Linked DNA regions of Homo sapiens: region 1 is linked to region 2. Evidence: promoter capture Hi-C in human tissues and cell types (Jung and others, 2019). All regions are on one chromosome and are shown on one strand. The core of a region is centred on a gene start or on the middle of the fragment in contact, and the rest is flanking DNA. Distances in the headings are between cores, read along the strand shown.

The links. The method cuts DNA at HindIII sites, captures the fragments that hold promoters and counts their contacts. A contact is called where the count stands out against the background at its distance.
Region 1: a contact is called between a fragment that was not itself captured here and the fragment with the promoter of PRSS38 in region 2, in 1 of the 25 tissues and cell types used here (H1 embryonic stem cells).

What each region holds. Positions count from the first base shown.
Region 1 is chr1:227,470,951-227,474,438 of GRCh38, forward strand. No RefSeq gene overlaps it. Among named protein-coding and RNA genes, the nearest start is that of LINC01641, 79 kb to the left of the region's middle. RefSeq lists an enhancer at 3,256-3,488. The HindIII fragment of the contact is 4,267 bases long and covers 22-3,488 here.
Region 2 is chr1:227,814,231-227,817,693 of GRCh38, forward strand. PRSS38 (serine protease 38) reads left to right here and starts at 1,445. Exons shown (of 5, transcript NM_183062.3): 1 at 1,445-1,634; 2 at 1,860-2,022; 3 at 2,979-3,250. The coding sequence starts at 1,487. The HindIII fragment of the contact is 13,958 bases long and covers 1-3,463 here.

The DNA of each region.
Region 1 (3,488 bases), core at 905-3,404, 340 kb before region 2:
ATGCTGCTCCAGCTCCAGCCATAGCTAAAAGGGGCCAAGGTACAGCTCAGACCATTGCTTCTGAGGGTGCAAGACCCAAGCCTTGGTGTTTTTCATGTAGTGTTGGGCCTGCAGGTGTGCATAAGGCAAGAGCTGAGGTTTTTGAGTCTCTGCCTAGATTTCACAGGATGTATGAAAATGCCTGGATGTTGAGGTAGAATTCTGCTGCAGGGGTGGAGCCCTTGTGGAGAACCTCTACTAGTACAGTTCAGAGGGGAAATGTGGTGTTGAAGCCCCTGTACAAAGTCCCCATTGGGGCACTGCCTAGTGGAGCCGTGAGAAGAGGGCCACCATCCTCCAGACCCCAGAATAGTAGATCCATTGACAGCTTGCACTGTGTACCTGGAAAGCTTCAGGCACTGAATGCCAGACTGTGAAAACAGCTATGGTGGCTCTACTCTGCAGAGCCATAGGGTCAGAGCTTCCCAAGGCCATGGGAGCCCACCCCTTGCATCAATATGGCCTGGATGTGAGCTATGGAGTCAAAGGAGATTATTTCAGAGCTTTGAGACTTAATGGCTGCCCTGCTGCATTTTAGACTTGTATGGGGCCTGTAGCCCCTTCATTTTGGCCAATGTCTCCCATTCGGAATGGGTTTATTCATCCAGTGACTCTACCCCCATTATATCTTGTAACTGTTTATTTGCAGGCTCATAGGTAAAAGGGATTTGCCTTGTCTCAGATGAGATGTTGGAGGTGGACTTTTGAGTTAATGCTGAAATTAGTTAAAACTTTGGGGGACCGCTGGGATAGCATGACTGTGTTTTGCAATGTTAGAAAGACATGAGATTTGGGAGGGTCCAGGGTAGGATGATATAGTTTGGCTCTGTGTCACCATCTAAATCTCATGTCAAATTGTAATTCCTAATGTTGGGGGAGGGATCTGGTAGGAGGTGATTGGATCATAGGGACATTTCTTCCTTGTTGTTCTCATGATATTGAATGAGTTCTCATGAAATCTAGTTATTTAAACGTGTGTAGCACTTCCCCCTTTACTCTCTCCCTCCTGCTTCACCATGTTAAGACGTGCTTGCTTCCCCTTCACCTTCTGCCATGATCGTAAGTTTCCTGAGGCCTCCCAGCCATGATTCCTGTACAGCATACAGAACTGTGAGTCAATTAAACCTCTTTTCTTCATAAATTACCCAGTCTCAAGTGGTTCTGTGGTTCTTTATAGCAGTGTGAGAACAGACTAATACAGTTGGGTTTTATTCCTTTCAACAGCAAGCCTATAGAAAAAGATCAACTGCTTGGGCTGGAGGAGAAGAACACTTAGGTCAATACATGATTTGTTAGCAACCAGCTAGAGTTTAGGAGAGAACACTTTTGCTGTGCACTTGAAAAGAAACCTGTCTATGGGCACTGGATAAGACACAGGCCTTTTCATGAAGCTTCAAGCCATTCAGAAAGCTTAGCACATGATGGAGGAAAACAGGAATGGTGTTTCCAGATGTAGAGAGATAGGTGATGCTGGAGGGAAAGCTGGATCAGAAGAGAAGGAGTTCATTGTAGATGAATTAGGTTTAATGTCCCTGTGAGATAGCAGAGTGGTAGTGTTCAGTCATCATGTGGATATACCGGACTGGAACCTGAATGTGAGCTAGAGGTAATGAATGAGCAGTATGAGTAGCTACTTAAATGTGGAGAAAGTGTGTAGAGTGAAAGTGGACATGCTGGGCATGGTAGCAAATGTCTCTAGTCCCAGCTGCTTGGGAGGCTGAGGTGGGAGGATTGCTTGAGCCCAGGAATTTTTGTGTGGCCTGTGCAACATGGTGAGACCCCATCTCTTAAAAAAAAAAAAGAGAGAGAAAGTGAATAGAAGATAGGCCTGTAAGGACTATCAGGATGTAAGGAACAAGCCCTCAGATATGTAGGTAGAATTGGAGGAGGAAAAGCAGGATAGGTTACTAAAAGAACAAAGAATTCAAGATAATAGAGGCTGTGATACAGTGCTAAATGCTGCCAGGAAGTTGTTCACTCTGTAAACACTGAATGCTGACTCTGCCACTCTTCTAAGTGCTGGAGTAGAGAGGACAGGTTGAACACAGTTTTTGCCTTTATGAGCTTATGGCCTAATGAAGAAGACATTTTTTTTTTTCAGGTAGTGGCAAATAGCAAGAAAAGAAATTGGGATAAAAGGAAACAGAGTGATTGGAGGAGTTCTTAATTTTAGATCGAATGAGAAGGAGCCTCTCTAGAGAAGTAACATTTGAAAAGTGACCTGACAAAAGTGAGGAAGGGAAGGAGCACGGACATTACAGGCACTGAGGTGAGTGCCAAGACTGGGACAGAAATGTGTTTCATATGTGTTCAGTGAACATATAGCAAGGGGGCCAGCATGGTCAGAGTGAGAAATGAGGGAAGTAATGGAGAAGATGAGATCACACAGGCAATGCCATAACTCACAGGGCCTTTTGTCTTGCAGGCCATGGGAAGAAGTCAAGTTTTTATTCCAGTTTTATGGGTAACTTTTGTCATATCTTGAGCAGGGGAGTGCAGTGCTCTCAATTTAAGAAGTTATGCTGACTGCTTTGGGGGGAGTAGACCATAGCAGGGAGGCAAAGTAGAGGCAGAGTAGAAAGTTAAGAAGCAACTAGGGGTGGCTGGCAAAATGGCCAAATAGGAACAGCCCTGGTCTGCAGCTCCCAACGAGACCAACAGAGAAGGTGGGTGATTTCTGCATTTCCAACTGAGGTACCTGGCTCATCTCATTGGGACTAGTTAGACAGTGGGTACAGCCCATGGAGAGCAAGCCAAAGGAGGGTGGGGTGTCACCTCACCTGGGAAGCACAAGAGGTTGGGGAACTCCCTCCCTTAGCCAAGGGAAGCCATGAGGAATTGTGCCATGAGGAATGGTGCACTCTGGCCTAGATACTATGCTTTTCCCATGGTCTTTGCAACCCACAGACTAGGAGATTCCCTTGGGTGCCTACACCACCAGGGACCTGGGTTTCAAGCACAAAACTGGGCAGCCATTTGGGCAGACATTGAGTTAGCTGCAGGAGTTTTTTTTTTCATACCCTAGTGGTACCTGGAATGCCAGCGAGACAGAGCTGTTCACTCCCCTGGAAAGGGGGCTGAAGCCAGGGAGCCAAGTGGTCTAGCTCAGCAGATCCCCCCACCCCCGCCACAGAGCCCAGCAAGCTAAGATCCACTGGCTTGAAATTCTCATTGCCAGCACAGCAGTCTGAAGTTGACCTGGGATGCTGGAGCTTGGTGGGGGGAGGGGCGTCTGCCATTACTGAGGCTTGAGTAGGCAGTTTTCCCATCACAGTGTAAACAAAGCCGCAGGGAAGTTTGAACTGGGCAGAGCCCACTGCAGCTCGGCAAAGCTGCTGTAGACAGACTGCCTCTCTAGATTCCTCCTCTCTGGGCAGGGCATCTCTGAAAGAAAGGCAGCAGTCCCAACCAGGGGCTTATAGATAAAACTCCCATCTCCCTGGGACAGA
Region 2 (3,463 bases), core at 195-2,694:
GGGCTGTGAGAAAGCTCTTTGACATGCCCTGGAGAGACATTTTCCCTGTTGTCTTGGCCATTAACATTTGTTTCCTCATTACTTATGCAAATTTCTGCAGCCAGTTTGAATTTCTCCTCAGAAAATGGGTTTTTCTTTTTCTATCACATCATCAGGCTACAAATTTTCCAAACTTTTATGCTCTGTTTCCCTTTTAAAACTGAATGCTTTTAACAGCACCCACGTCACCTCTTGATGCTTTGCTGCTTAGATATTTTTTCCACCAGATATGCTAAATCATCTCCCTCAAGTTTAAAGTTCCACAAATCTCTACAGCAGGGGCAAAATGCTGCCAGTCTCTTTGATAAAACATGGCAAGCATTACCTTTACTCCAGTCCTTATCTCCATCTGAGACCACCTCAGCCTGGATTTCATTGTCCATATCATTATCAGCATTTTGGTCAAAGCCATTCAACAAGTCTCTAGGAAATTCCAAACTTTCCCATATTTTCCTGTCTTCTTCTGAGCCCTCTAAACTGTTGCAACCTCTGCCTGTTACCCAGTTCCAAAGTTGCCTCCTGGCAGGGAAATTGTTTTGGGATGATTCAAGCATATTACATTTATTGTCCACTTTATTTCTATTATTATTACATTGTAATATATCATGAAATAATTATACAACTCACCATAATGTAGAATCAATGGGATAAATTTTAGTAGATATAAATGAAGGCTTAATGAATTTTTTTTTTTTTTTTTTTTGAGACAGAGACTTGCTCTGTCACCCAGGCTGGAGTGCAGTGGTGTGATCTCGGCTCACTGCAACCTCTGCCTCTCAGGTTCAAGCGATTCTCCTGTCTCAGCCTCCCAAGGAACCAGGATTTCAGTTGCACGCCACCACACCTAGCCAATTTTTGTATTTTCAGTAGAGACAGGGTTTCGCCACATTGGCCAGTCTAGTCTCAAACTCCTGACCTCAAGTGATCCATCTGCCTCACCCTCCCAAAGTGCTGGCATTATGGTGTGAGCCACGGTGCCCAGCCTATTTCTTTTTCTTTTCTTTCTTTTTTTTTTTTTTTTTGATAGCTGGGTGGCAGATGTATAAATTGTCATTGACCTAACAGAATTAAGCTGGGCCATGGAGAAAACTGAGAACATCACGATTCAAAACACAGAATTCTCAAATGGACCAGTGTGTTTAGACCTGACTGTGGAATGGAATGCCACACCTAGGCATATGAGGTATGGTTGGGGCACTGTCACATGTCCAGCTTGGGAGCCATCATGTGCCCAGGTCGGGAGAGGTAAATCCACGAGACACAGACATGTGCTGGGGGTGCAGTCGCATGTCCAGGTCAGGTGCCCTCACTTGCTGGGAGTGCCATCTGCTAGTGGGAGCCAGTCACATGTTGGGGTGCAACCACCTGTTGGGGGCGCAATCCTGTGCTGGAGACACAGTCACATGTCGGGAGCTAGTCACCCGCTGGGGGCGCTGCCTCGAGCCTCATGGCTGCCCCTGCTTCCGTCATGGGCCCACTCGGGCCCTCTGCCCTGGGCCTTCTGCTGCTGCTCCTGGTGGTGGCCCCTCCCCGGGTCGCAGCATTGGTCCACAGACAGCCAGAGAACCAGGGAATCTCCCTAACTGGCAGCGTGGGTAGGCCCTGCCCCAGGGGCGGATGGGCGGCTGGAGACAGTGCCCTTGGGGCGTCTGTCGGTGCTGGGCCTCCTCCCCCATGTCGCCTGCCCATCCCTTCCCCTCCCCCATGTCCCCTGCCTTCCCTTCCTCCTGTGTCCCCTGCCCCTCCCCCACGTCCCCTGCCTGCCCTACCTCTCCCGTGGCCCCAGCATGGCTCCACCGTCAGCTCCGTTCTCCCTGCAGCCTGTGGTCGGCCCAGCATGGAGGGGAAAATCCTGGGCGGCGTCCCTGCGCCCGAGAGGAAGTGGCCGTGGCAGGTCAGCGTGCACTACGCAGGCCTCCACGTCTGCGGCGGCTCCATCCTCAATGAGTACTGGGTGCTGTCAGCTGCGCACTGCTTTCACAGGTAAGCGGGCGCCGGCCTGGGATGGTGTGGGTAGCTGGGCCTGCACGGAGTGCCCACAGCGGCTTGGATGGACCCCACGCAAGCCTCCCCCATCACCATTGTCGACTCCCTTCACCACTGTCGACCCGCGCAAGGCCAGGTCCCCACCAGTGAGGCTGGTCCCCAAACACACAGCTGGGTCCCCATTCTTGAGGCTGGTCCCCCAAGTGCACAGCCAGGTCCTCAAGAGTGATGCTGGTCCCCAAGATCACAGCCAGGTCCTCATATGCAAGGCTGATCCCCTAAGTGTACAGTTAGGTTCCCATGAGCTAGGTTGGTCCTCAAATGCACAGCCTGGTCCCCATGTGCAAGGCTGGTCCCCTAAGTGCACGACCAGGTCCCCACGAGTGAGGCTGGTCCTCAAGGGCACAGCCAGATTCCCACAAGTGAGGCTGGTCCTCAAGGGCACAGCCAGATTCCCACAAGTGAGGCTGGTCCTCAAGTGCACAGCCAGGTCCCACAAAAGTGAGGCTGCTCCTCAAGTGCACAGCCAGGTCCTCATAAGCAAGGCTGGTCTCTAAGCACCTGGCCTTCCCGATTGCTCCTCCAACAGCCCCATTCACCACAGCTGCCCCGCACAGCAGGCACGCCTCTCCTGTGGCCATCTGGCCTCCAGAGGGATGTGTGCAACCAGGTTGTCAGTAAGAGTCAGAGCAGGTCTCACATGCATGGGCTGCTGGCCTGTACAGCTGGTGGTCGTGTACAGACTTGGGTCCCCAGAGCCTCCATGGGCCAAGTCGACTCTTTAGGGGGCAACTCTTCCAGACAGCCAGATAGGTCCCTACTATGCTGCAGGAAGAAACTGGCTTTTCAATCCCACCGAGTGAGTGCCAGCCCCTTGCGCTTGGCCTCCCCAGGCCTGTGGGCTGACCACACAGGAAGCTGCGGGCATTGTACCTCTGTTCTCACCCCCACAGGGACAAGAATATCAAAATCTATGACATGTACGTAGGCCTCGTAAACCTCAGGGTGGCCGGCAACCACACCCAGTGGTATGAGGTGAACAGGGTGATCCTGCACCCCACATATGAGATGTACCACCCCATCGGAGGTGACGTGGCCCTGGTGCAGCTGAAGACCCGCATTGTGTTTTCTGAGTCCGTGCTCCCGGTTTGCCTTGCAACTCCAGAAGTGAACCTTACCAGTGCCAATTGCTGGGCTACGGGATGGGGACTAGTCTCAAAACAAGGTAGGAATACAGTGCAGGGCTTTGTGGGCAGGATGAAGGCTTCTCTTCCACCACAGGGAAGAAAATGCTCTGCCAGCTAAGGGGGTCCAGGTGTTTGGGGACTGGAATCCCCACCTGTCAATCAACATTTATTTGTTTGTCAGTGTGGATATTTTGTTGTTTTGTTTTATTTCTGACTGGCTTTGTTGTATGCAGAAAAATACAGCTACTTTG